Regions from separate parts of the Homo sapiens genome. Here all the other regions are linked to region 3. The links are contacts of gene promoters, found by promoter capture Hi-C in blood cells and fetal thymus (Javierre and others, 2016). All regions are on one chromosome and are shown on one strand. Each heading gives the region's core, a stretch centred on a gene start or on the middle of the fragment in contact. The rest is flanking DNA. Distances are from core to core; before and after follow the strand shown. Region 1 holds the start of RALGAPA1 (Ral GTPase activating protein catalytic subunit alpha 1). Region 2 overlaps DDHD1-DT (DDHD1 divergent transcript). Region 3 holds the start of KLHL28 (kelch like family member 28). Region 4 has its middle 140 kb from the start of SSTR1. Region 5 holds the start of MBIP (MAP3K12 binding inhibitory protein 1). Region 6 has its middle 2.9 kb from the start of PSMC6. Region 7 holds the start of FAM177A1 (family with sequence similarity 177 member A1).

Region 1 (3,814 bases), core at 815-3,314, 9.2 Mb before region 3:
ACCTGTGAATCCCTCGCCTGCATTCACACATTAACTTACTGTGTCCTATTCTCGGCTAAATCTTTATTTCAATGGCTTAACTCTCAAGAAGAATGAAAACAAAAAGATCACAATCTCCACTATATTTAGAAGCTTTACATTTTCTTGAAAACTGAGCTTTTTATAGCGCTAAACTGGATTAACTGCTTTCTTACTACTCCACTGGAATAAATACAATTTACTTGTGACAAAGATTAGCTGTCATAAATGTAGAAAGAGTAAAAAAACAAACTAGAGACACAAAATCTGGGTTCCAATTCTGACTCAGCCTCCTGGTAGCTGGCTGACTACTCGATGTTCCCAAACTTCAGCTTTTTTGTTGGTAAAAAATGGAGAATAATATCATCTACCTATAGAGTTATTGCAAGGATTATCATAATTTACGTGAAATCACTGTAAACAGTAAAGCATCATAGAAATGTTGGGTAATATTGGTGGTATCCTGGTGGTATGAGTAAACAATAGACTAGAGAAACATGTACCTCAAATAAGGGACTTACTTTTTTCACTAAATAAACATCACTTTCCAAAACAAATACGCATCAGGAGGACAGCTCGAGATAAACTCTGAACTAGGATTCAGGCATCTGGATGAATGCATCTTCTTCAGCCAGTTCCACCATTAACTCTAAGTATCAACACAGGCGAAATAATTTTCCTTTTCATCTCAAATGTCTTCATCTAAAAAATCCAACTACTGGACCAGATGTTCCATAAGTATTATTACAGCCTTTATCAGCCTACCAAATGACTAAGTATTCAAAAGAGTCGATTAACATTATATTCAAAACTTAGAGCACTGTTTGGTCTACCAGCAAAACAGAACTTAAGGGCAGACGATAAAAAAAATATTTTTAATTAAAAATAGAATTATATACAATTCTCGAGAAGCAAAGGATGAGTTAAACTACCTATAATAGTTCTCCCTCTAAATGACTAGTGATGAACAAGGTGCATTAACAAAAGGGCGGGGCTCCTTCCCACAGCTTTTTGGGAACCGCCCACTTCCCAAAGAGGTGTAACTGCTACCTCCTTGTCTTCATCTGCCAAGAAACTTGAAAGATTAAGGTTTATATTGTCTGAGAGAGGATTTTATTTTTCTTTTTACTTGGGTGGGGTTGGCAGTAGTCATCTGGCAAACATATCCTATAAACACCATTATCCACAACGCCAGGTCTCCCCACAAAGTCTTAAAGATCTAAGTTTTTAGAGTAATACCAATTTTAAAAAATAAGTTCAGACTATTAACTCAAAATTAGATTACTGTGTTAACAGTAATCAGTGCTGCCAACTGCCAAGTTTTCGCTTCTCCGAATTATTCACCCTCCCGCGTCTCCGCAGAGGCTACGATTTGCCCTCTCCTGCACCGCGCCAGGTCCCGAGAGAGAGTCCGCAGGGGCTCCCAGGAGAGGGAAGGCCGGGCAACCCAGGCCTCGGCGCTGCCACCCCTCGCTCCTCACCGATGACGATGCGCAGGTGCTTGAGGCGAGTCAGTGCGTCCTTCTTGGTGTCTAGCACCTTCTGGGTGGACTTCTTCACGTCCCCGTGCGGCTTCTTGGAGAACATCCTGTCGCTGCCACTGCCACTGCCACTGCCACAGCCGGCTCCCAGCCGGGTCCCGGCGGCAGAAAGTGGAGGGAGTGGACGGGGAGGAGACTAGCCAGAGAGGCTCATTAGCTCCCCAGCCTTGCGGGCCAGGGCAGAGCCGACTCCTTCCCGATCCAGGCCAGGGCCGCCACCTCCACCCGCCTCGCGCCGCGGCTCCAAGGCACCTTCGGCCCCAGCTCCAATATGGCGGATCCCTCTCCCGGCCCTGCACGGAGCGAGGCAGACCCGGGCTGGCCGCCTGCCGCCGCCGCTCGTCTCCAGCGGCCGCCGCTCGCCGCCACAGGCCGGGGCCCCGGACCCAGAGCCACGAAGGTGGAGCTCTCGGCGGCAGGAGCACAACTCTCTCCCTGAGGCCCCCTTAAGGTTGAAGCTTCTTTAGCAGCTTACACCCTGCAGAGGCCGAAACGGAGACGAGTGTGGTAGTGATGGGGTTTCACGACTCTGCCGTCGGTGGCGAACGGTGTCCGTGGCAACCGCCTTCTGACGTCAAGAGTTCTTGACGTCATGCCAGCATGAGATCACCCGTGGCACTCCCCGCCTTGGTTTCCTGTGTAAGCAGCCAAAGGAGAATCTCAAGAAAGGCAAGGAAGGTAGTTACTGCGTGCTCCATTGTAAGCCAAATGATAGTAATAAGCAAAGAGAAGTAATCTTTATTAAATATGTCCATGATTTATCTTTGAAAATGTGCATAAGTTGTTGTGGCCACCAGATCCTCTAGCAGAAAGATAAACGAAGTTACAGTTGGGCAATTTATTCTGTCCTAAATCTATTACTAATAATATTTCCTGCACTATGTATGTGATTTCTTTCATATTTTTTCTATTTGCAATATCCCTGTTTTTTGCTGCAAACAACTTGACAACAGAAAGGCTTAAGCAGAGGTATCTAGGTTTTTTAAATAAAAGTAATCTTGCTTTCCTTTTCTATTGTGCTTTTAAAAATCTTTTCCCCATCTGCACCCCACATAAAGATGAATATATTGTCAGTTTTTCCTCTGCAAAGAAGAATTCAAGGTTCTTATTACATTGATGGAGTCATCTGAAGAATCTGCAATAGCTGAAAAAAATCCGTGAAATTCTGAATGACATAAATTGAAATTTTTATTGGAACCCTTTTTTTTTTTTTCCTTTTTCCTTTTCTTTCCAGACAGGGTCTCTGTGTCCCAGGCAGAAGTGCAGTGGTGTGATCTCAGCTCACTGAAGCCTCGAACTCCCAGGCTCAGGTGATGCTCCCACCTCAGCCTACCGAGTAGCTGGGACCACAGGTGCGCGCCACCACATCCAGCTAATTTTTGTGTTTTTTGTAGAGACGGGGTTTCGCCATTTTGCCCAAACTGGTCTAAAACTCCTAGACTCAAGTGATCCGCCCGCCTCAGCCTACCAAACTGCTGGGATTACAGGCGTGAGGCCACTGCGCCTGGCCAGGAACATTTCCTCCACAAAATAATTTGATAAAGAGTGAGTTTGCTTGTTTGAACTGTTTCCTTCTATGTTCTCACCCATAGCAATAGACTTGTCCAATGAAATATGTGATTAACATAGAAAAATAACAAAATCAGCAAAGAAGAGAGATGTAAGACATTTGCCAAAATTATGTTAAAATATAGTGCTTTGCTTAATGGTAGTTTGTTTCAACAACAATCCTATATTTTTTAAAGTACAAAAAATTTATTCAGTTTCTACATGTAGGGTTTGTTTGTATCATCAAACTTACAAGCCATACATGTTTTGAGGAAGCTTATAACATAATAGAAAAATAAGGGGATTGTTCAAGAGATTTTAGTTCTAGTTCCTCTCAGCATCAGTTTTCTTATTAATAAAATCAAAATAAGGTCTGTCCCTCACAGTTTCGTGAAATTTAGGCAATAATACAATGTTTTCAAGCATGATCTTTAGAATTACATAGACCTAAATTAGACATTCTGTTTTTCACTTGCAAGGACTTACTTGCTCTCGGGCCCTTGGCATGTAGTTCAGTCTCAGCCTGATTTTCCTCATTTGTAAACTACATCAGTGATTGTGATAATTAGGTGAGAAAAGTATTGAAAGTTACATCTATAATGACACATCTCATAACATTCCTTTCCTTCATAGAATTTAAATACAGTAATTTGTGTAACTGTTTACAGATTCTCTCTTTCATGAGACTGTAAACTCCCTGAGGACAG
Region 2 (3,774 bases), core at 384-2,883, 8.2 Mb after region 3:
CTGAGGCAGGAGAATGGCGTGAACCCGGGAGGCGGAGCTTGTAGTGAGCCGAGATCACGCCACTGCACTCCAGCCTGGGCTACAGAGCGAGACTCCGTCTTGGAAAAAAAAAAAAAGTACTTTCTGCTTTGCATTGAATGAATGTTTCTATTACTTTTAAGTGTGCTTATTTGGTTATTTTGAGAAGATTATCCTCTTGTGGTTCACTGGGGAAATGCCACACTCCTTTTAGGTAGAGTGATCATTTTTGAAGGAAATGTTGATTCTCAACACAACCCAGGTGGCAGAAGAAGGGAATCCTAGATTCTCTGCTGACCTGGTTATCTTGGTCTAGAGCCAGGTGTGTGTAATCTTTTGGCTTTCCTGGGCCACATCGGAAGAAGAAGAATTGTCTTGGGTCACACATAAAATACACTAACACTGATGATAGCTGATGAGCTTAAAAAATCACGAAAAAATCTCGTACTGTTTTAAGAAAGTTTATGAATTTGTGTTGGGCCACATTCAAAGCCATCCTGGGCTGCATATGGCCCATGGGCTGCAGGTTGGGCAAGCTTGGTCTAGACCTTGTTGAGGGGAGATGTCAATCAACATTTGTGGGCTGAGATTGCTTCTGCCCCTTGGAAGTGAGCTTGGGCTATGGCAGACCCATATACTGGGTCCCAGGCTGACAGTGCTCAGAAGATATTTGAGAGCACAATATCTAACTTCATGTGACTGCATGTGTTTATTTCCTTTTTACTCCCTAGCCATCATAGCAAGGCAAAGGTCATGATGTTGTTTTTCTCAACTTTTCTGCTTTAAAAAGTCATGTTTTATCTAATGCCTCCTGTTCCTGCTCTCCTTTTGTTTTCTAGATCATCTTCTCAGGTAATATGATCCTGACCAGAGGGAGATGGGTTGGGGCATCTATTCTAGTCCCCACCTGCCAGAATAGGTGTCAGGTGGCTCCTCACCACTCTACATCATTAGTGTGTACAATGGACACAGCATTATCTGAACTTCCATGGCTCTATGTAAAGCATTCCATTGTATTTTAATAATTACGCAAGACAAGGCCTCTTTCACATAAGGCAAATAAGTGTGATTGATTCAGACTTCTGGCATTACTGGGCCATGCTGCCGCAAGAAACAGGTGCATGTGGAATCAAGCCTGACGGAGTTATTGGTGTGCAGAAAAAAAAAAAGGTAAGCCAGTTGGTTTGTACTACAAAAGACTAAAACAGCTCGTCTGTGTATCCTACCACCTTCCTGTCCCCATTAGGCATATGGCAAGAGCTATCTGGTAACAACGGCCATCTCCTCCCGCGTCTCAAAGATGTTTTCGTGCAATTGTGTGCTGTCTTTCCCTTTTCTTCTTTTCTTAAAGTTTGTCCCTGTTATTCATTTTATTATTTTAGAGATAGGGTCTTGCTGTTGCCCGGGTGAAGTATAGTAGGCCAATCCTAGCTCACTGCAGCCTTGAACTCCTGGCCTCAAGTAATCCTCCTGCTGCAGCCTCCCCAGTAGCTAGTATTACAGGCACAAGCCACCATGTTGTTCATTTTAACCTGTCTTCACGTTTGTAACATTAGGGAATGCTTGATGCCAAGTAATTTATCCTGAGCCAACATCCCACACCTGCACTTGAAATAGCTTCATCCAAAGTGTATGATGGAAGACCCCTATTTAGAATGAAAGAAAGAGGGCAGACATAACCATGCCCCCATCTGCTGTATCTCGTGTTCGATAAGCCATCCACCACAACTTAAATTTTATTTCACTTTTTATTTTTAGGATTACTACTTATCTGGTTTTTAAAGATGAGAGTGTTTTATCTGATGCCCTGACCAAATGAAACAACAACCTAGACTGAAGCAGGGAACATTCGCTGGACATTTCAGGCACTGTGCTAGGCTCTACAGTGAAGCATTCACAGTCTAGTGGTGTCTATAAATAAAACCAAAATGCTAACTTTTAAATTCCTATGAGGAATATAATTGTAATGCCACTATAGCTGCATCACTACCATGGGGTCATTCTCTCCCTACAGACAGATCAATAAACAAAATCAAATTACAATCCAAAGGAAGCAAGGTGGGCAGAAATAACGTAGGGATTCATGATGAATAAAGTCATTAATCCTTCCATTTATTCATTCAACAAATATTTATTGTCTAGTGCTATTGTGTTTTTATTTTTAACTGAAATTACACTTAAAATTTAGAATTATGAAATGCATTTATTTAAAGATTTATAAGAGGCCTATCCACAAAACCATACTTACCAAAACCCTATAAAAATGTTTTCTATTCCTTTTGGAAATAAAGGTCAGTGGTGGTGAAGGTATATATTCAAATGAAAGAAAGTATAAATCAATACAACATTGATGCATACTCTGTGGAGGCAGCCACAAAATCCTCATCAGCTTGTTTATATCAGACAGATTTGGCCATCTTCCTGCCCTTTCATTATAGAAAAGTGAGTTGGGCCATAGCTATTGGCTGCTGTGAGGCCCACATTATGCACCCATTGTAGATGTATTTAATGACTTCTGCGCTCTAGGATTTTTTCCTACCTCCACAGGTAAGTTGAAAGTACATATTTGTTCACAGACTCATATGAGCCTTCAATAAAAAGTAATTGATAATCATAATATGGTGCTGAGCAAGACTTAGAGGCAGCACCTTGCGTATGTGTATTGTCATATATAAGTTAAAAAGGAAAGAAAAGAGAAGCTTTGTTCCAATAAGGATTTATTTCCACTAATGTAACTGTCAGTAATTTGCTGAGCATTTAAAAGACTGAACAGCAGAATTGATTTACTGTTTTTGCAACTGCTGCTTAAAAAAGTATGTTTATCCTTACATCATAAGTCAGCAACTCATTTAAAGTTTCAGCTTGAATAAAATATGATTCTAGGCCGGGTACGGTGGCTCACGCCTGTAATCCCAGCACTTTGGGAGGCCAAGGCGGGTGGATCACAAGGTCAGGAGTTCGAGACCAGCCTGCCCAACATGGTGAAACCCCATCTCTACTAAAAATACAAAATTAACTGGTCGCGGTGGTGCGTGCTTGTAATCCCAGCTGCTCGGGAGACTGAGGCAGGAGAATCACATGAACCCAGGAGGCAGAGGTTGCAGTGAGCCGAGATCATGCTACTGCACTCCAGCCTGGGCAACAAGAGCGAAACTCCATCTCAAAAAAAAAAAAAATATATATATATATATAATAATCATACATATAATAATCATTATATATACATATATATGATTCTAGACTCACAAGCTCCCAAATTCTTTTTGTGGGTCTCCCATTGGGTTACTTGAACCATACTAGATAGCCATTAGGATAATACCATTAATAAATGTAAATGGCATGGTAGAAAAGCAAAATTCTTCAGAAATTTTATCTTCAAGATTCAGCAACATATATTTTAAATATGAGAAATTAGTAACAATGGCCCTGCATTTGTGACTCCTTCACTTCTAAAGTTTAGAACATCAGATTCATACTAATTCTTAATCATCTGTAAGAACTCACAAATAGTCCTTCATTTGATTATTCATATTACTCTGCTTCTGAGGTTAACAATTATAAACTTTGATCACTCATATGACTGTACTTCTCAGGTTAGAAATTATAAACCTCTGGGCCAGGTGGATCATGCCTGTAATCCCAGCACTTTGGGAGGCTGAGGCAGGAGGATCACTGGAGCCTAGAAGTTCGTGACCAGCCTGGGCAACATGACAAAACCTTGTCTCTACCGAAAACAAAACAAAAAACAAAAACAAA
Region 3 (3,561 bases), core at 239-2,738:
ATTTGAGCTTCTTAGGTTGGAACTGTGAGAACCAGACACTTTCTCATTGACAACTGCTACAATCATTTCTTGTTTTTCACCTCCCTGTCTTTAACCTGTCCCTAAAATGAAACATGCTAGCTAAACCTAATTTAGGCAGATTCATTTAAACACGAAAATGGCTCATTAAAACCAAAGTAACAGCCTAGAATTTAAACCAAAACATAGGATGTATATTTACACAGCCTCATTTACATTATAGTCTATTCCCCACCCCCACCCCCCCAAAAACAAAACAAAACAAAACTGATATTCAAATCGTACTTTAAGGCAAAAATCCAGAAATTATTTTTGCACTTGCATCAGCTGGGAGCATTATTTATAAAGCTGTTTGGCATATGTGACTCATTTATTCCAAGACTTTAAAAAGTATTTAAGAGAAATCCCACCTGGTACAGAGCAGGGTAGGAATACTTGCATTTGAAGTGCATAAATTTGGGTCTTCAAATGATAACTTAGACTTTTCGCACGAGTCATTCAAAAGTAATAGTATTATTCCTTCAAAAAAAAAAAATATCTCTTCCACACTCCAAAGCATTCAGGCTCACACTAGACACTCCAGCTCTTCCACTGTGTCCGTTTAAGTATCACTTATGAGGAGAAAATGCACACAAAATTCTCAGTTCGCCTAAAATAAATAAATGTCTACTATCATTCCTAAATCCACAAGGCAGAATTCTCTTAGAACCATGATGCCAAGAACTTCCACCGCAAGTGAAATTGTCTTCGCAATCTCTGTCTCTAGGAGACTGAAAGGCTGCAGAGACGCTTGAGGATCCTGCAGGGAGGCTAGGGCGGCAGACGGAGGGGGCGGAGGTTAGGGGAGAGTCCCACAGAGGAACTGCATTAGAAGGAAAGATTTTGATAACGTCTAAGGGAGAGGCGGTTAGCTACAGGGGGAAAAAAACAGACCTATTTCCATATTATGTACGTTGTAAAGAAAACGCAAAGTGATGAGGGTAAGGAAACGTTGCCAAAAACAAACAAACAAAAACAAAAAAAAATTAACCCTCTGCGGCCGGAGGGTTAAGAGAAGTCGACAAAAGGAGAAGGGGGAGGCGAATAAAGGCCCCAAAGACCAGGAATTGAAAAAAAATACCCGATTTGTGAGCTTGGCCGTGGTCCAGATCTTCTGTCCTGATAAGCAGATGGCAAGAGGAAAGGATCGCAGTTACTCAGGGTGGTAGAGAGTAACGCGTTTACAAGGGTGACGAGCCCTGCACAAGAAGATGTCGCCTCTCTTTCCACCTGCTCCGCTCAGTCCTTTGCCTCTTACTCTAGCACCAGTGGCATTCGGGCAAAACACTGCCAAAGCCTGCACCGCTGGAGGACAGCAAAAGGAAAATACCTGAGTCTCAGTAATCACACGGGCAGCGACAGGAGGAGGAACCGCGGACAACTGGAGCCTGGGCTGGATCCTCACTAGCTCCGGTCAAACCCTAACTCTTACGGGTGGGGCGGGCAACTTCCGCCCAGAGCAAGGAAAGCGTCACATCCGTCAAATGGCTTCACCCCTCCTCCCTTCTCCGCTGTAGCTGCGTTTACAACGTTCTGACTTCCTCTTCCAGGAGACTTTGGCCTAGTCTCAACACCTGACGTGGACTACATAACCCAGCATTCATCACGGCAAGTGGATTTCCGGGTCAAGAGGTCCGCGCTGGGTACATCACCATGGAAGCAATCGGTTTGGTCACGTGGTGCCCTTGGTTACGCCCGGTGGCAGCTGTGGGGTCTAGGGCTCAGACGGGGGCCATTTTGCCAGAGGCTGCCTCCCGGAGTTGGGGGCGGCCTGGCGGCAGGCTGAAGCTGTTCTTTTGCCTCTTCTGCAGCTTGGGGCTTGGAGAGGATCTGGAAGTCTGGGCTCCATCGAGCCCTTTGGAGACGGCAATGGTTTCTTCCAACCACCACCACCTGACAACCCTGCATGGCGGCTGCCCCCTCCGCGCTGCTTCTGCTGCCGCCCTTTCCAGTCCTCTCTACCTATCGGCTCCAGAGCCGCAGTCGTCCTTCCGCCCCAGAGACCGATGATAGTCGAGTTGGGGGCATTATGAGAGGAGAGAAAAACTACTACTTCCGTGGAGCTGCGGGGGACCACGGTTCCTGCCCCACTACAACTTCGCCTCTGGCCTCGGCCCTCTTGATGCCCTCGGAGGCAGTCTCAAGCAGCTGGTCTGAGTCTGGAGGCGGTTTGTCAGGGGGAGATGAAGAGGACACTCGGCTCCTTCAACTCCTCCGCACTGCCCGGGATCCTTCTGAGGCCTTCCAGGCTTTGCAAGCTGCTTTGCCGCGGCGGGGCGGTCGACTTGGCTTCCCCCGACGCAAGGAAGCTTTGTATCGGGCACTGGGCCGAGTGCTTGTGGAAGGAGGTAGTGATGAGAAGCGGCTCTGCTTGCAACTTCTCTCGGACGTTCTCCGGGGTCAGGGGGAGGCAGGCCAGCTTGAAGAGGCCTTTAGCTTAGCACTTTTGCCTCAACTAGTTGTCTCGTTACGGGAAGAGAATCCAGCCCTGCGGAAAGATGCGCTGCAGATCCTTCATATATGTCTGAAACGTAGTCCTGGAGAGGTGCTGAGAACGCTTATACAACAAGGACTGGAAAGTACCGATGCCCGACTTAGAGCTTCCACAGCACTACTGCTTCCCATCTTGCTTACTACTGAGGACTTGTTGCTTGGTCTGGATCTCACCGAGGTGATAATATCCCTAGCCCGAAAGCTTGGTGATCAGGAGACAGAAGAAGAATCTGAGACAGCTTTCTCCGCACTTCAACAAATTGGGGAGCGACTTGGCCAAGACAGGTTTCAATCTTACATTTCTCGTCTGCCCTCTGCCCTGAGGAGACACTACAATCGCCGCCTGGAGTCCCAGTTTGGAAGTCAGGTTCCTTATTATTTGGAACTTGAAGCCTCTGGATTTCCTGAAGATCCCCTTCCCTGTGCAGTGACTCTTTCCAACAGCAATCTTAAATTTGGGATTATTCCTCAGGAGCTGCATTCACGATTATTGGATCAGGAAGACTATAAGAACCGGACCCAGGCCGTCGAAGAACTAAAGCAGGTGCTGGGAAAATTTAACCCTAGTTCTACTCCTCATTCTAGTCTTGTTGGCTTCATTAGTTTGCTATATAATTTGTTAGACGATTCTAACTTCAAAGTGGTGCATGGCACACTTGAAGTCCTGCATTTACTGGTTATTCGCCTTGGAGAGCAGGTACAGCAGTTCTTGGGACCAGTTATAGCAGCTTCTGTCAAAGTGCTGGCGGACAACAAGTTGGTGATCAAACAAGAATACATGAAAATCTTCCTCAAGCTAATGAAGGAAGTAGGACCTCAGCAGGTGCTTTGTTTACTCCTGGAACATCTCAAACATAAGCATTCCAGAGTGAGAGAGGAGGTGGTGAACATTTGCATCTGCTCCCTGCTGACCTATCCTAGTGAGGATTTTGACTTGCCCAAACTGTCCTTTGATCTTGCCCCAGCTCTTGTAGATAGCAAACGCAGGGTACGCCAAGCAGCTTTAGAAGC
Region 4 (3,699 bases), core at 834-3,333, 6.9 Mb before region 3:
TCCCTTTTAAAACTGAATGCCTTTAACAGCACTCAAGTCACTTCTTGAATGCTTTGCTGCTTAGAAATTTCTTCCACCAGATACACTAAATCATCACTCTCAAGTTCAAAGTTCCACAAATCCTGAGGGCAGGGGCAAAATGCTGCCAGTCTCTCTGCTAAAGCATAATAAGATTCACCTTTGCTGCAGTTCCCAACAAGTCTCTCATCTCCATCTGAGACCACCTCAGCCTGGATTTCATTGTCTTTATCATTATCGGCATTTTGGTTAAAGGTATTCAAAAAATCTCTAGAAAGTTCCAGACTTTCTCACATTATCTTTTTTTTTTCCTGAGCCCTCCAAACTGTTCCAACCTCTGCTTGTTACCCAGTTCCAAAGTCGCTTCCACATTTTAGGGTATCTTTTCAGTAGCACCCCACTCCTGGTACCAATTTATTGTATTAATCCATTTTCACACTGCTGATAAAGACATACCTGAGACTGGGCAATTTACAAAAGAAGAGGTTTAATGAACTTACAGCTCCATGTGGCTGGGGAGGCCTCACAATCATGGCACAAGGCAAGGAGAAACAAGTCACATCTCACATGGATGGCAGCAGGCAGAGAGAGAGAGAGAGATTGTGCAGGGAAACTCCCATATTTAAAACTATCAGATCTCAAGAGACTTATTCACTATGATGAGAACAGCATGGGAAAGATTCCTTCCCATGATTCAATTACCTCCCACCGGGTTCCTCCCATAACATATGGGAATGGTGGGCCTTATAATTCAAGATGAGATTTGGGTGGGAACACAGTCAAATCATATCAGACCCTTTCTACATGGGCAACAACTGTCAAGCAGTTTCATATGTATCTTGTAGGAAAGGTGTATTACCTTTAGTTGCCCATGGATCATTTTGGAGCTTTATGTGAATACATATCTTTTTGAACATACATGAGAGCACAACCCACTCTGTTATTTGGCTTATTGTTTGAATGTAACAATATATCTCAGAGATACTTCCATATTAAGAATGAATTTTTACTGTTTTAACATAATTTTTTAATATTACACTAGTGTAGATACTTTTACATATGTATACATATATACATGTGTATATGTATGTAATTTATATACACATATACACATATAAATGAGACACATATTGTGTCATAAGCACTTTATATGTGTTAAATAAAAATTACAGGAGGTCCTTATTTTGGACTGAGCTCCTGCACTAGACCCCAAGAGATCAGACTAAAAACCAGAATGGAGTCCGTCATGCTGAGGTTCTACTCACCACATGGAAACTGAGTTGTTATGTGTCCTTTCCAGAAATCAGGAGAGAGAGATAACCAAATTTCCCAAATAGGTTAGTTTTAATCTGCATGGCAATGAAATTCCCTCTGCCTTTAATCCTTACAACAAAAAGTAACCTGGGATTACCTGAAGTTAACTAATGGGTCATTTTTCTATTGTTTTATTTCCCTGTTTGCACCTTACAAGGAAAGTAACTTTGAAATAACATGTCTGCTTTTTGTTCTTTGTTTCTGCTTTCTTCAGCTCTCTGTCTATAAAGCCAACTTATTCTACTCAGCTCATTGGAACACATATTATACTTTATAGAATGAATTGTTGCTGGATTCTGGACTTGCAAATAAAGCCAAGTTAAGATCTTTAAGCTAAAGTGTATTTTTTGCCTTTTGACTTATGTGTTCACTCATTTACTCTTAACTATCCAATGAAACATGTACAGTATTTCTTTTGGCACAGCTTTACAGATGAGGAACCTGGGGCAAGAGTGCTGAGGAAGCTTGTTCAGGGTTTCAAAACTAGTAAGTGGTGAAACCACCCAGAAAATAGAGTCTCATGCACTTAACAGTCTAATTATGATTATACTTAGGTTGCTCCCAATGTTTGTTTATGTATATAACTATGCTTTAAAACATTTTTGTACATTGCAGTTGCACTCATGTGAGTATCGATGGGATACATTCCTCAAAATCAAATTTCTGTGTTGGAGGATATCCACATTTTTAGTTTTTATGGTTACTGTCAAATTCCCTTCCAAAGAAGTTGTGATAATGTGTACATTCACTGTCTGTGTGTGATAATTCCTGTTTCCTCACGAACTTGCCAAGGCTGTATACTATCAAACTATTGCCAATTTGGCAGCTAAAAAATACTATCTTTATTTTGCCTTAATTTGCATTTATTTATGAGAAGAATTGGGCATCCTTCCATCTGCTTATAAGCCATATGTGTTTATTTTTCTGTGAAATGCCTATTATATTTCTAAAAGATTTGGGGTATTTTTCTTATTGATTTCTAGAAGTTTTATATATGTGCATATATATAAAACGTATACACATATATAATTTCTACATAAAGCTTTGTGTCATTTTTGTTTTTTGTAGAGATGGGGGTCTCACTTTGTTGTTAGGGCTGATCGTGAACTCCTGGCTTCAAGTGATCCTCCAACCTCAGCCTTCTGAAGTGTTGGGATTATAGGCATGAGCCACTTCTCCTAGCCTGAGAGTTTTATATTTTAAGGAAAATAGTATTTTATCTTTCAATATATTGCAAATATTCTCTCCCCCACTTTTTAAAAAACTTTTGTCCTTGTTTATACTATTTGGTTCTAACAACAGAAAAGTTTTAAATCTTCATAGGAACTAATTTATCGACATATATTTATGGGTTGTGGATTTTATAGTTTTGATTTTAAAAAAGTTCTTTAACTTCAGAATTTTGAAAAATTGGGATATATTCTTTATTACAGTTATGGCTTCATTTTTTTCTTTCAAAATTAATCAGCTGGAATTTATTTTGGTATAAAGAGTGAGGGAATAATTCAGCTATACTTTTAGTTTAAATTGCTAACTGGTTGTCTCATCAAAATGTATTGAAATATCTTTCCTTTCTCCATCATTTGCTTATATGGCCATACTCCCTTATCTGTAGTTTCGCTTTCTGCATTTTCAGTTACCCAAGGTCAATCATGGTTTGATAATATTAAATAGAAATTTCTGGAAATAATGTTTTAGTTGCATGCTGTTCTGAATAGTGTGATAAAATCTCACACTGCCTTGCATTGTCCACACTGGACAAGAATCCTCCCTTTGTCCAGCGTATCCAGGCTGTCTACCTGCCCTTTAGTCACTCAGTGGCCCTCTTGGTTATCAGATTGACTGCAGCAGTATTCAGGTAGGAGATGAACGGGACTTATTTTCCCAGCACCAATCACGAGCCTGATGATCAAAACAGGATGCAGTGAAGAAACCGGTGGAAACCACCACATGGTGACAAAAGTGATCTCTAGTTGCTCTCACTGCTCATTAGCATAAAGACACTCCCACCAGCACCATGACAGTTTACAAATGCCATGACAACAACCCAGCAGTTATTTTATATGGTTTTGGAACTCCCTCACCCATTTTCTAGAAAATTCTGAATAATTCACTCCTTAATTAGTATACAGCTAAGAGTGGGTATAAACATAGCTAGCTACCAATCTACAGGAACTGCTACTCTGCACTGCTACTGTTGCTGTACGCTGATGCTGCTCCTCCTTCTCCTCCTCCTCCTTTTTGGGACTGCTGCTACTGCTCTGGCCTGCTCTGCCTATAGAGCAGCCACTTTGCTGTACACTGCTACTCTGGGCAATTCTGCCTATGGGAGAGCCCCGCTCTGTCTATGGACAGCCATTTTGCTGT
Region 5 (3,833 bases), core at 1,080-3,579, 8.6 Mb before region 3:
GATGAAACAATCATATTTTTGACACTTGTATAGGAGGTCCCTTCACTGTGTCATGGTAAAGTAACCAAATATTTACTGTGAACATTTTTGACAGGTGACATAAGTAAATTGTAATCACTTCTTTACTTGTACAGTACTTGAATGTTTAAAATTTTCTAATGAGTTTGAAAAATTCAGTATGCAAAATATTTCAAAAGAAATGTTTAAATCATTGCTCAGTATTTTTTAAAAATATTCCATCTTCTGTTAACAGGTGAGAATAAACTTTTTTCATCTTGACATTATAAAATAAATAAACTTAAGTTCCAACGTCGCCATAAAAAGTTCTCTAACTTTTAAACCATTTAAACGTCTTGGGTCTTAAGAATGGAATGTTAATAACAAAACACCCCAAGTCTTTAAAAAATGTTTTTGGTAAGTACTTGGCAAACAACTGAATTTAAAAGTTATATCTTTAAGCAGACTCCATTAATAACTGCGTCATTTCATAAAACCGTTTAACTTACAGTAATGTTCTTTGTAAGACACAACATACTACGATTTTTAAAAATAGTAACTTCTTAAAAGACTGATTCTCCATCTACTCAAGGCTTTAAAAATAATTTTCACAAATCAGACAAATGTTCTATTTTCATAGGAATTTACCATTATCTTTGACACAAATGCCTGCTTTGTCCACTTGCGCTAGTACCAGCCCCAAAACAAACTTTTACGGCTAGAAAATGGTCTATGTAAGATAGAAAATATTTCCTTTTAAAAGGCAGGTAAACAAGCATACTTTTAAATTGTTTCTCATTTAAAACTTGAATTTTACACCATGAAACGAAACAGTGACTTGATCGAAGAAGCCCATTTCAATTTAAAACCAATTTTACTATGACATTTCTGCAAAAGCGATTTATCAGCCAGTTAAACTAGTTAATAGTTAAATAACGACAGTTCTAACGCCAACAGCATTTTACGCTAGAAGTATTTTAAATGAATTCCTTTTACTTTTCTCCCCATTTGAAAGGATTATAGATGCGCAAAACAGCCCGAAGGAAAAAAGAAATAAACAAAACCAAGTAACTCATAAGAACAAATTACTCCCTCCCCCACCAAAAAAAGCTAATAAGCGCGCGCTTTTCTATAAATCTCAGGCCTACTGACCAACCAATTCCCATAAAGAGTAAGTTGGAGGAAAAAGGACCCTGAACGCTAAGCGCCTCCTAAACTCGCAGTGAAGCTTTTCCACATTCATTCTCTCCAAGCCTGCCTCTCTCGGAGCCGGGTTTTCACTTAGGCCAACCTCACCCACTCTTGGGGAGGACAGCTGCAAGGTAAACGACTCTGCAACCGGTACCGCCGTCCTCCTCACTCCGACCGAGGAGGCTGGGCCCGGGCTCCTTCCACACCTCGGCTTCGGGACCGCATCCCACACCTCTGCAGGCCTAGCTGCCCCCGGCCTCTGCTAGAGAAAAAGAATGGCGAGGAGGGACCGGATGGTTTCCATATTCCCAGTCCCTCAGGCCACCTCTCACCTGTCCAACCAGGGTGTGTAGGGAGCGAAAGATTTCGTAGAGCACCTCTCGGGAGAGGTTGGGTCTGCATCTTCGCTCCAGGTTCCTGTCACCGCTGCTCGGGCGATTAAGCTCCGTGGCAGCAGCCATGATATCTTCTCAGGCCGCCCCACCACCACCACCACCAAGATTTGCTCACAACCCCGCCCCCTCCCTTCCAGCTTTAGTCGCTTGGCGATGACGTAAGACACGGAGTCTGGTTTAGATCGGGCTTTGAGGCCCCACCCTCTCTATGTGAATGACAAGCACGTTACACCAATCAGTTGCAGCTGTGACATTGCGCCGAGGCTCTGAAGTGGGTAATTGCAGACCACAGCTAGGCTGGAATGCTGTGTTTGGGGTGGTCATTAGAGTCGTGGTCTCTTTAGCGTTATGAAGCCTACCTTGACTCCTAGGTGTTCATTGTGAATCTTGGTAAGAGGAGACATAGTTAAATTTTGTAGTTTGAGTCCAAAAAGTAAAAGTTGACATTTTAACATGGCGGTGTGGAGTGGGTCTGGAGGAAGCTTGCTGGTCAGGGATGGAGTGGTGCCCACACGTGTTTCTAAACATTGGAAAACTCACACGGAATTATCATGATTGGATAGAACATTTTCATCTCTTCAAGTTTGTTGTTGTTGTTTTGGAGACAGAGTCTCACTCTGTCGCCCAGACTGGAGTGCAGTGGCACTACCTCGGCTCACTGCAACCTCCGCCTCCCAGGTTCAAGCGGTTCTCCTGCCTCAGCCTCCTGAGTAACTGGGACTACAGTTGATATTCTCTGTTTTAACTGTAGAGACGCTTAACCCTAAAATTGTTTCAAAGAAATGAAACACTGTCAATATAATTCCAACAGGAATTTAACCTGGATAAATAATATCATGCAACCACAATCTTTGAAATTAGGACATAAAACCGAATTCAAATTTTACAAAGTATTATTTATCATAATAGCTTTATTATAACGATGTTTGTGGGGTTTTGTAATCTTTTAGTCAGACTCCGATATTTTTAAAAAGTGTTATCCAATTAAAGTATTACAATAATTTTTAGTGTTAAGCTTTATTCAAAAACACTTTAAGAAATCAACATCAGCTTAGAGATAAGGAAGGTGGGATTTAAAACTCGTAATTCTGTTAATAGTCTAATGCATTTACAGTAGAGAAAGCAAAGGTGGAAACTTGCACAATGTGTATTCTTTAGTTTTAGGGTAGACTAAATTAAAGGGAAGGACTAATGCATCAAGGAACTAAGATAAGGACGATGGGGATAAAAACTCCTTTGACCTGTCCCTAGGGAGTCTCTTAATTAGGCTTTCATTTCCAAAGACAAATGGGATCACCAGGCTTGACAGAATCTTGGGAAATCTTTTCTGTTCCCTTGTTGGCAGCAAGATATACAACTGACATTCCAGCCTATTTCTACAGGCAGAAAAATACTTCACAATGTCCAGTCTCAAATTGAGCAACCTTCTTATTCAAGCATGGTAATGGGGTAACTGTAAGTTTTTGTTTTGTACCAAATTAGCAATCAGTTTCAGATCATTTGTTTTCATTGAGGTGTTTCATATTTTTTCAAATATGGAGAACACTGATATGCAACACATTTGGGAATATGCTTTGTATATTTAAAAAATGTTGTCTTTAACAAGGTGCTGCTATTCCTTTCTTTGCCATCATTGATTTTGAATTTTCAAGTTTTACTTGTTCTTTTGAGCCTCTAATACAGAATTAACTGATGGCCATTTGATCTGTGTATTGCTTCTCCATGTAATTCTGTGATTTGATATCCAGACCTGCACTTGTATCTTAGTATTCTTTACTTAGGTACAGGTTGAGCATTCCTAATCTGAAAATTCAAAATCCAAAATGATCCAAAATTTGAAACTTTTTGAGTGCCAGTACCACAAGTGGAAAATTTCACACCTGATCCGACATAACAGGTCACAGTTAAAATGTAGTCAAAACTTTGTTTCATGCACAGAATTATTTAAAACATTATATAAAATTACCTTCAAGTTATGTGTATAAAGTATACATGAAACATAAATGAATTTTGTGTTTAGATTTGGGTCCCATCCCCAAGATAGCTTATTATATATATGCAAATATTCCAAAATCTAAAAAAAATCCGAAATCTGAGACACTTCTGGTCCCAAGTAGTTCAGATAAGGGATACTCAACCAGTAGTACTTAAAATTTGTTAACTCTTTTGTGCATTCTTTCTTCTTTCTAAGGACCTTTCTTACTCTTCTTGATGCCTATTACCTTCATTTTGGAAATTTTTCTCATTTTC
Region 6 (3,659 bases), core at 108-2,607, 7.7 Mb after region 3:
GCTCCAGAGACTGCAACCTCTGTCTCCCAGGTTCAAGCAATTATCCTACCTCAGCCTCCTGAGTAGCTGGGATTACAGGCATGTGCCACCACTTCTGGCTAATTTTTTTGTATTTTTAGTAGAGACGGGGTTTCACCATGTTGGTCAGACTGGTCTTGAACTCCTGACCTCAAATGATCCACCTGCCTCGGCCTCCCAAAGTGCTGGGATTACAGGCATGAGCCACCATGCCCGGCCTGAACTCTAACTTCTATTCCTACCTCAACATCTCACTGCTTAGACACAGACACATTAATTTAAGTGCATTTTCTTTCTTTTTTTCTTTTCTTTTCTTTTTTTTTTTTTTTTTTTTGAGATAGAGTTTCACTCTGTCGCCCAGGCTGGAGTGCAGTTGCGCAAACTCGGCTCACTGCAACCTCCACCTCCTGGGTTCACGCCATTCTCCTGCCTCAGCCTCCAGAGTAGCTGGGACTACAGGCGCCCGCTATCACACCCGGCTAATTTTTTTGTATTTTTTAGTAGAGACGGGGTTTCACCACGTTAGCCAGGATGGTCTTGATCTCCTGACCTTGTGATCCACCCGCCTCAGCCTCCCAAAGTGCTAGGATTATAGGTGTGAGCCACTGCGCCTGGCCTAATTTAAGTGCATTTTCATAGGTATTTGGAAGTAGACATTTGGGATGAAAAATTTCTAAAAACTTAAGTGTTGTGGCCAATGTGGGAGCAAAAGTAGTTGCTACTTGCCTATTTGACACTGTTTCCCAATTTTTCTCTTAAAAATAAATCTGTTCTTGTTGTATTTGTTATCGATCACTGTGTAACAAATTACCCCAAAACTAAGTGGCTTCAAACAACAAACATTTATCATCTCATGGTTTTTAGGGACCAGCAATTCAGGAGCAGCTGAACTGAGTTGTGTGACTCAGTCTCTCATGGTGTTGCAATCAATACTAGGGCTGCAGTAATAAAGGCTTGCCTAGAGCCGGAGGATCTCTGCCAGGAACTGCTCACTCATATGGCTGTTGGCAGGAGGCCTTAAGTTCCTGGATGGCTGTTCCTTGCTATGTAGGTCTCTCCATAGATCTGTTGATGTGTCCTCATGCCATGACAACTGGCTCTCCCACAGGGAGTTATCCAAGCGAGAGTCAAAAGGAAGGCTCAACACTTTTTGTGATCTAGTCTCCATCGTTGCGCACTGTCACTTCCACTTTATTTATCAAGAGCAAGTCACTAGGTCCAAGGAAGGGGAATTATGCTCCACCTCTTGAAGTGGAAAGTGTCAAATAATTTGTGTACATATTTTAAAATGACCACACTCATCTGTGCCAAGTTATAGGAAAATAGATTGAGAAACTATCCTTACATGATTTTTGAAGGTCTACATCAATCTCATTACCGTTTGTTATGACATCACTTTTAATGACTCCGAAATAAACTAAGATATGCCCTACCTTCTTTTATCTCTTCCACCCTATATGTTCTAATTTTCATTTTTTGGTCACATTTGTATTTTTCTGTTTTCACTTTATGATATTTTAAGTTCCTTGAGTACTGGTCACATTTCTTAGCCTCTTTATAACTCTGCTTACCTATCTTAGTGCCTGAGATATTCATTCATTCAATATACATATATCTCTTTTATTTCAGACACTGTGCTAGACACTGGGGATCCAATCAGGGGAAATAAATAGTCATAGTCCTTGTTTTCCGAGGGGTTACAGTCCACTGCAGAGAAAAGACTCTAAACATTTAATCACGTTTAAGAATATATAATTACAAGTTGAGCTACGTTTTCAGATGGAGAGGAATACAGTCTTATAGGCATGTATAAAAACGTAACGGCCAGGCGCGGTGGCTCACACCTGTAATCCCAGCACTTTGGGAGGCTAAGGCGGGTGGATCACCTGAGCTCAGGAATTTAAGACCAGCCTGACCAACATGGTGAAACCCCATCTCTACCAAAAATACAAAAATTAGTCGGGTGTGGTGGCGCATACCTGTAGTCCCAGCTACTCTGGAAGCTGAAGCAGGAGAATCCCTTGATCCCGGGAGGCGGAGGTTGCAGCAAGCCGAGATCGCACCACTGCACTCCAGCCTGGGCGACAGAGCGAGACTCCTGCTCAAAACAAAAAACAAACAAACAAACAAAAAAGTAACAGGGCTAGTGTAGGCATGGGGAAAATAGAAGATTCTTCTGAAGTTGAAATGCTGCCAGATGGGTAAAAGAAAAAGAACAAGGGTTAAGGGACTTTAAAATATTGATGTGATTAATGTTAAAATAACCTATCAGTATGTGCTCATAAATATTTTAAATTGAGCCATACTGAGCTTTCTTTCTCTGCCTTGTCCTCTCTTCTTTACTTCTTGATGTCAGAGGTGACATGTTTTGGTATGGATGGACTAGTTTGACCAGAGTAGTTGCAACTGAGTGGGAGAAGGGACTATCCCTGCCCCATACAGCTTCCTTGTTCATTGTATACTGCAAGAACCCAGTCACATTTAGAAAAATTGGCCGAACGCGGTGGCTCATGCCTGTAATCCCAGCACTTTGGGAGGCCGAGGCGGGCGGATCACGAGGTCAGGAGATCGAGACCAGCCTGACCAACATGGTGAAACCCTGTCTCTACTAAAAATACAAAAATTAGCTGGGCGTGGTGGTGTGCGCCTGTAATCCCAGCTGTTCGGGAGGCTGAGGCAGGAGAATCACTTGAACCCGGGAGGTGGAGGTTGCAGTGAGCCGAGATCGCGCCACTGCACTCCAGCCTGGCGACAGAGCAAGACTCCAACTCAAAAAAAAAAAAAAAAAAAAAAAAAAAAAAGAAAAATAGAATGGAATATTCACACAATACCCATGAGAATTGTTCCTAATAAATTTGAAGGCATCCTTTATGTGACTTTGGGTCATTAATTTACAAAAATTTGTACTTTATTTGTATATTTAGGATGTATATATTTAAACTCAAACATTCATGGCCATTGGATAAGGTGAGACCAAATGGAATCTATTTGGAGAATTTTACTCATGTTTTTTGGACAACAATTAATTGTCCCCAGGAACAATGATAGCAAGAGGTATAGCAATGAGGACCTGTAATGCAAAAATTGGAGTCATTACTACCCTTAAAATAAATATCTATTCAAAAGAACACTATTGAGTACATGCCATGTGGCAGATGTTGTGTTTAGGCACATTATCCTATTTAATACTCATGACAACCCCATTAGATAAGTGCAATTATTATGATCATTTTACAGAGATATTGAGGGAGTATGTAATTTTCCCCAAATCACAAAAATCTGAAAGTTGGCCAGGCGTCGTGGCTCACGCCTGTAATCCCAACACTTTGGGAGGCTGAGGCGGGCGGATCACTTGAGGTCAGTAGTTGGAGACCAGCCTGGCCAACATGGTGAAACCCCATTCCTACTGAAAATACAAAAATGAGCCGGGCGTGGTGGCGGGCGCCTGTAATCCCAGCTTCTCAGGAGGGTGAGGCACGACAATCGCTTGAACCCGGGAGGCAGAGGTTGCAGTGAGCCAAGATCGCACCACTACACTGCAGCCTGGGTGACAGAGTGAGACACAGACTCAAAAAAAAAAAAAAAAAAAAAAAAATCTGGCCGGGCGCAGTGCCTCACACCTGTAATCCTAGCACTTTGGG
Region 7 (3,499 bases), core at 1,000-3,499, 9.9 Mb before region 3:
TATATTCTGCTTCGGCAATGAAAATTGTAATTTGAGGCCAGGCGTGGTGGCTCACGCCTGTAATCCCAGCACTTTGGGAGGCTGAGGTGGGTGGATCATCTGAGGTCGGAAGTTCGATACTAGCCTGGCCAACATGGTGAAACCCCGTCTCTACTAACAATACAAAAATTAGCCGGGCGTGGTAGTGCACAACTGTAATCCCAGCTACTTGGCAGGCTGAGGTGGGGGAATCGCTTGAACCCGGGAGGCGGATGTTGCAGTGCGCCAAGATTGCGCCATTGCACTCCAGCGTGGGTGAGACCCCATCTCAAAAAAAAAAAAAAAGAAAAAAAAGAAAAAGAAAATTGTAATTTGATATTTAATTGCCACTTTGGAAAATAAAATCATGCATTTATAAATATCCCACAAAGTTTTAGTAATAAAGATTGTTGATTGCCCTGCTTGCCAGTAAGAAGGAAGAGATTTTGAATACATATAATGCAGAACTGTGTTGTTTATGAATGCCAATTCATGAAGTCTTAACAATTGGTTCTTTATTTTTGTTTTCAATTTATGGCCGAGTTTGGTTTTGCTGTTTTGGACTGTCTCAACTCCCTGCTGATGCCACCATACAGAGTCAGATCAGGTACTAACTTGTTTACTTCAGCAGCAACCTAACTTGATTTTATTACCAGGATAGAGAGCAATATGGATTTCCAACTAGTTTTTAAGGCGTAGATGGTTTTCAAATGATTATTTGTTTTTTAAAGTTTTTGGTTTTGTTTTTAGGTTCCAGTTATACATAGAATAGGAAGTGTACAATAACATTAGGCAGAGGGTAAGGAGAAGAACTTTGGCACAGAAGAGAAAGGAATATTTAATATTTGGGCCTGCTGTTGCTATGATGAAAAACATTTACAAGGTCATACAACTTTAGGGAGCATTTCTGAATTGAGACTAGTATGAAAATGGAATTTAAAGTATCAAATGAAGCCTCCCATAGCCAAAATAATGTATGTTTTGGTTTTGCCCCCTACATATTTGTGAAAACTTTCATGCTAAAACAACAATATACCATTTACCTGCAGAACCTCAGACTTGTTTGATGTTGAAGTCATGCAGTAATTGCATGATTTTTTACTTTCGTTGAACATTGCGAAAGACGGAAAAAATCTGGGACGCCCCCTCTAACATACGCACACGACTTTAAGACACAGATAAAACATTCCTTACATTTGTCAAGATGGAAGCTTACTACTGCCCTTTGCTCTCCTTCAGGTCTTTTCACTTAACACTTTCTACAGTTATACTTAAGTATTTCAGACAAGAGTAAGCAAATATCACGCCTGGGGTTCTTCTTTCGAGGGTATTTTGGCTGGACTGTCACCCACGTTTGGAATGGAAAGTGCAGCACGAGCCGTACATTTTACATTTTTCAGCAACCACATCCCATCACTAGCCTTTGAAGTACAACGACACAGCTGTCTTCATTTTACAAGTGCAAAAACCGAGGTCCTGCGGGGTGACTGCCCCAGACGCCGCTGGTGACGGGCTGCGCCGAGGTCGAGACGCCAGGCTTCAGGTACACGTACCAGAAATGACGTCACAGGCGGTGCCAGGCGGGGATCCACGAGCTCTGGATGCTTGCTTGGCCGGAAGCGACGCCCCGCAAGGACCCGCCCCGCCCCGCCCCGCCCCGCGCGAGCCGGTAGTTGCGCCTCCCAGACTGCAGTTGGCCAGCTCTCGGGGTGCGGAGCCCGGCGGGCTAGGCGAGGCGCGGGCTGGCCCCGCCCCTCAGGCCGGCGAGTCCCCTTCTCAGAGACTTGGCTAGGCGCGGCGCGAGGCGGGCGCTGGGCGGGTGAGTCCCACTTCCCGACAGCCTGGCTCGGCCAGCGACTGGGCGGGGAGACCAAGGATGGAAGTGGGCTTACCGGCCATTACCCTCTTTCTCACCAGCGCCAGCAGCCCTGTGGTGGCGACGACGATGGACCAGGAGCCAGTGGGCGGTGTGGAACGAGGAGAAGCCGTCGCAGCCTCGGGAGCTGCGGCCGCCGCGGCATTCGGGGAATCTGCAGGGCAGGTAGGTGGGGCCGCCGAGGCTGACGTCCGGGGAGCCGAGCCGCCTCCTTGCCTTCTCCGCGGGCCGCTCTTTTAGCCTGCGCGGCCGTCCTCCGAGCAGGCCGCCCCAGCTTTGGAGTTCCTCCTCACTGCACCCCTGTTTCTGCTCACTGAGACCAGCTTGTGGGAAGGAGCGCCCCCCGCCTCACTCACCAACCCCTTGGCTGGCAGCACAGCAGACTCTGGGGCGGCCTCGGGTTCCTGGGGTGATAGTCCAGCTTCTGGTCTACCAGAGGAAGAAGAAAGGCGTGTCCCCCAAAGGCTGTCCTTGCAGTAGCTGGAAGCCAGGTGAGGGCGGCTTCAACCACTTCTCAGTCTCTTCTGGTGCGAGCGCCTGCCTGGGCATCTGCCCTTTGCTTGGCATATGCCAAACGTTTACCAGCTTTAATTCACTGGATCCTTACAGTAACCGCTCGAGGTGGGTGTTAGCCCCATTTCACCGCCGAGGCAACTAAGGCTCCGAGCTGCGCTGTCCAACATAAATAGAATGCAAGCTGCATTGAAAATTGTAATTTAAAATTTTCCAGTAGGCACGTTTTAAAAAAGTGAAACCGATATTAATTTTAATAGCATATCTTATTTAACCTAATTTATCAAAACAATTTCAACCTAAAATTACTATGAAAGTTATTAATGAAGTATTTGCATTCTCTTTTGGAGTCTTTTCTAAGTCTTTTAAATCCTGGGTGCATTTTACACGCATAGCATATCGCAGTTCTGGCTGACCACATTTCAAGTGCGCATTAGCCACATGTGGCTAGTGGTTACTGTATTGGACAGCGCTGGTTTAGAGAGTTAACGTTTCTTGCAACTTTTCAGTATTAGACAAAAAGACACTTTGGGAGGCCAAGGCGGGTGGATCACCTGAGGTCAGGAGTTCAAGACCAGTCTGGCCAACATGGTGAAACCCCTTCTCTACTAAAAATACAAAAATTAGCTGGGCGTGGTGGCGCTCGCCTGTAGTCCCAGCTACTCGGGAGGCTGAGGCAGGAGAATTGCTTGAACCCTGGAGGTGGAGGTTGCAGTGAGCCGAGATCACGCCACTGCACTCCAGGCTGGAGACAGAGCGAGACTCCGTCTCAAAACAGCAACAACAACAACAACAACAACAACAACAAAAAAAAAACCCTTGAGTTGCTCATGTATGTAACTCTTCCCATCCTCCATGAGAATGAAGCTTTTTCAGTAGCTTCATTTTTGAGACTAAGTACCTGAATGTTAGTAAGACATTTCCCCCAAACTGTGAGTATATCTCTGTGTATCTCTTATAGTATAAGATGTCGTTTGCATTAACAAAAGCTTATCCAGCCTGGGCAACAGAGCAAGAACCCATCTCTTAAATAAAAAACTAAAGAAACCCCAAAAACAAAAAACACAACTTTCCCACATACCAAACTCTATA

What was found. Contacts are between HindIII fragments. The CHiCAGO score rates a contact against its expected background, and 5 or more counts as called.
Region 1: a contact is called between the fragment with the promoter of RALGAPA1 here and the fragment with the promoter of KLHL28 in region 3, in 5 of 17 cell types (naive B cells, total CD8 T cells, non-activated CD4 T cells and 2 more). The highest score is 17.8, in naive B cells.
Region 2: a fragment that was not itself captured here is called in contact with the fragment with the promoter of KLHL28 in region 3 in 1 of 17 cell types (non-activated CD4 T cells); the score reaches 5.8 in non-activated CD4 T cells.
Region 4: a fragment that was not itself captured here is called in contact with the fragment with the promoter of KLHL28 in region 3 in 1 of 17 cell types (naive CD8 T cells); the score reaches 6.7 in naive CD8 T cells.
Region 5: a contact is called between a fragment that was not itself captured here and the fragment with the promoter of KLHL28 in region 3, in 2 of 17 cell types (non-activated CD4 T cells and total CD8 T cells). The highest score is 5.8, in non-activated CD4 T cells.
Region 6: a contact is called between a fragment that was not itself captured here and the fragment with the promoter of KLHL28 in region 3, in 1 of 17 cell types (fetal thymus). The highest score is 5.6, in fetal thymus.
Region 7: a fragment that was not itself captured here is called in contact with the fragment with the promoter of KLHL28 in region 3 in 1 of 17 cell types (total B cells); the score reaches 5.9 in total B cells.

The regions. Positions count from the first base shown.
Region 1 is chr14:35,807,231-35,811,044 of GRCh38, forward strand. It overlaps RALGAPA1 (Ral GTPase activating protein catalytic subunit alpha 1), which reads right to left and starts at 2,065. Exons shown (of 42, transcript NM_001346249.2): 1 at 1,500-2,065. The coding sequence starts at 1,605. RefSeq lists enhancers at 1,715-2,275, 2,112-2,211 and a silencer at 1,792-2,031. The HindIII fragment of the contact is 1,366 bases long and covers 2,016-3,381 here.
Region 2 is chr14:53,155,386-53,159,159 of GRCh38, forward strand. It overlaps DDHD1-DT (DDHD1 divergent transcript), which reads left to right. Exons shown (of 3, transcript NR_110062.1): 2 at 858-1,188; 3 at 1,777-2,143. Among named protein-coding and RNA genes, the nearest start is that of DDHD1-DT, 3.9 kb to the left of the region's middle. The HindIII fragment of the contact is 2,163 bases long and covers 553-2,715 here.
Region 3 is chr14:44,960,459-44,964,019 of GRCh38, forward strand. KLHL28 (kelch like family member 28) reads right to left here and starts at 1,489. Exons shown (of 5, transcript NM_017658.5): 1 at 1,388-1,489. It overlaps TOGARAM1 (TOG array regulator of axonemal microtubules 1), which reads left to right and starts at 1,732. Exons shown (of 20, transcript NM_001308120.2): 1 at 1,732-3,561. The coding sequence starts at 1,964. RefSeq lists enhancers at 556-645, 1,160-1,674, 1,216-2,025, 1,675-2,189. The HindIII fragment of the contact is 5,188 bases long and covers 1-2,364 here.
Region 4 is chr14:38,062,003-38,065,701 of GRCh38, forward strand. No RefSeq gene overlaps it. Among named protein-coding and RNA genes, the nearest start is that of SSTR1, 140 kb to the right of the region's middle. The HindIII fragment of the contact is 578 bases long and covers 1,795-2,372 here.
Region 5 is chr14:36,318,940-36,322,772 of GRCh38, forward strand. It overlaps MBIP (MAP3K12 binding inhibitory protein 1), which reads right to left and starts at 1,698. Exons shown (of 9, transcript NM_016586.3): 1 at 1,521-1,698. The coding sequence starts at 1,649. RefSeq lists enhancers at 1,387-1,646, 2,047-2,096. The HindIII fragment of the contact is 533 bases long and covers 2,064-2,596 here.
Region 6 is chr14:52,702,446-52,706,104 of GRCh38, forward strand. No RefSeq gene overlaps it. Among named protein-coding and RNA genes, the nearest start is that of PSMC6, 2.9 kb to the right of the region's middle. The HindIII fragment of the contact is 5,392 bases long and covers 1-3,659 here.
Region 7 is chr14:35,044,570-35,048,068 of GRCh38, forward strand. It overlaps FAM177A1 (family with sequence similarity 177 member A1), which reads left to right and starts at 1,703. Exons shown (of 5, transcript NM_173607.5): 1 at 1,703-2,059. The coding sequence starts at 1,895. RefSeq lists enhancers at 1,223-1,422, 2,143-2,412, 2,513-2,572 and a silencer at 1,543-1,892. The HindIII fragment of the contact is 2,045 bases long and covers 1,228-3,272 here.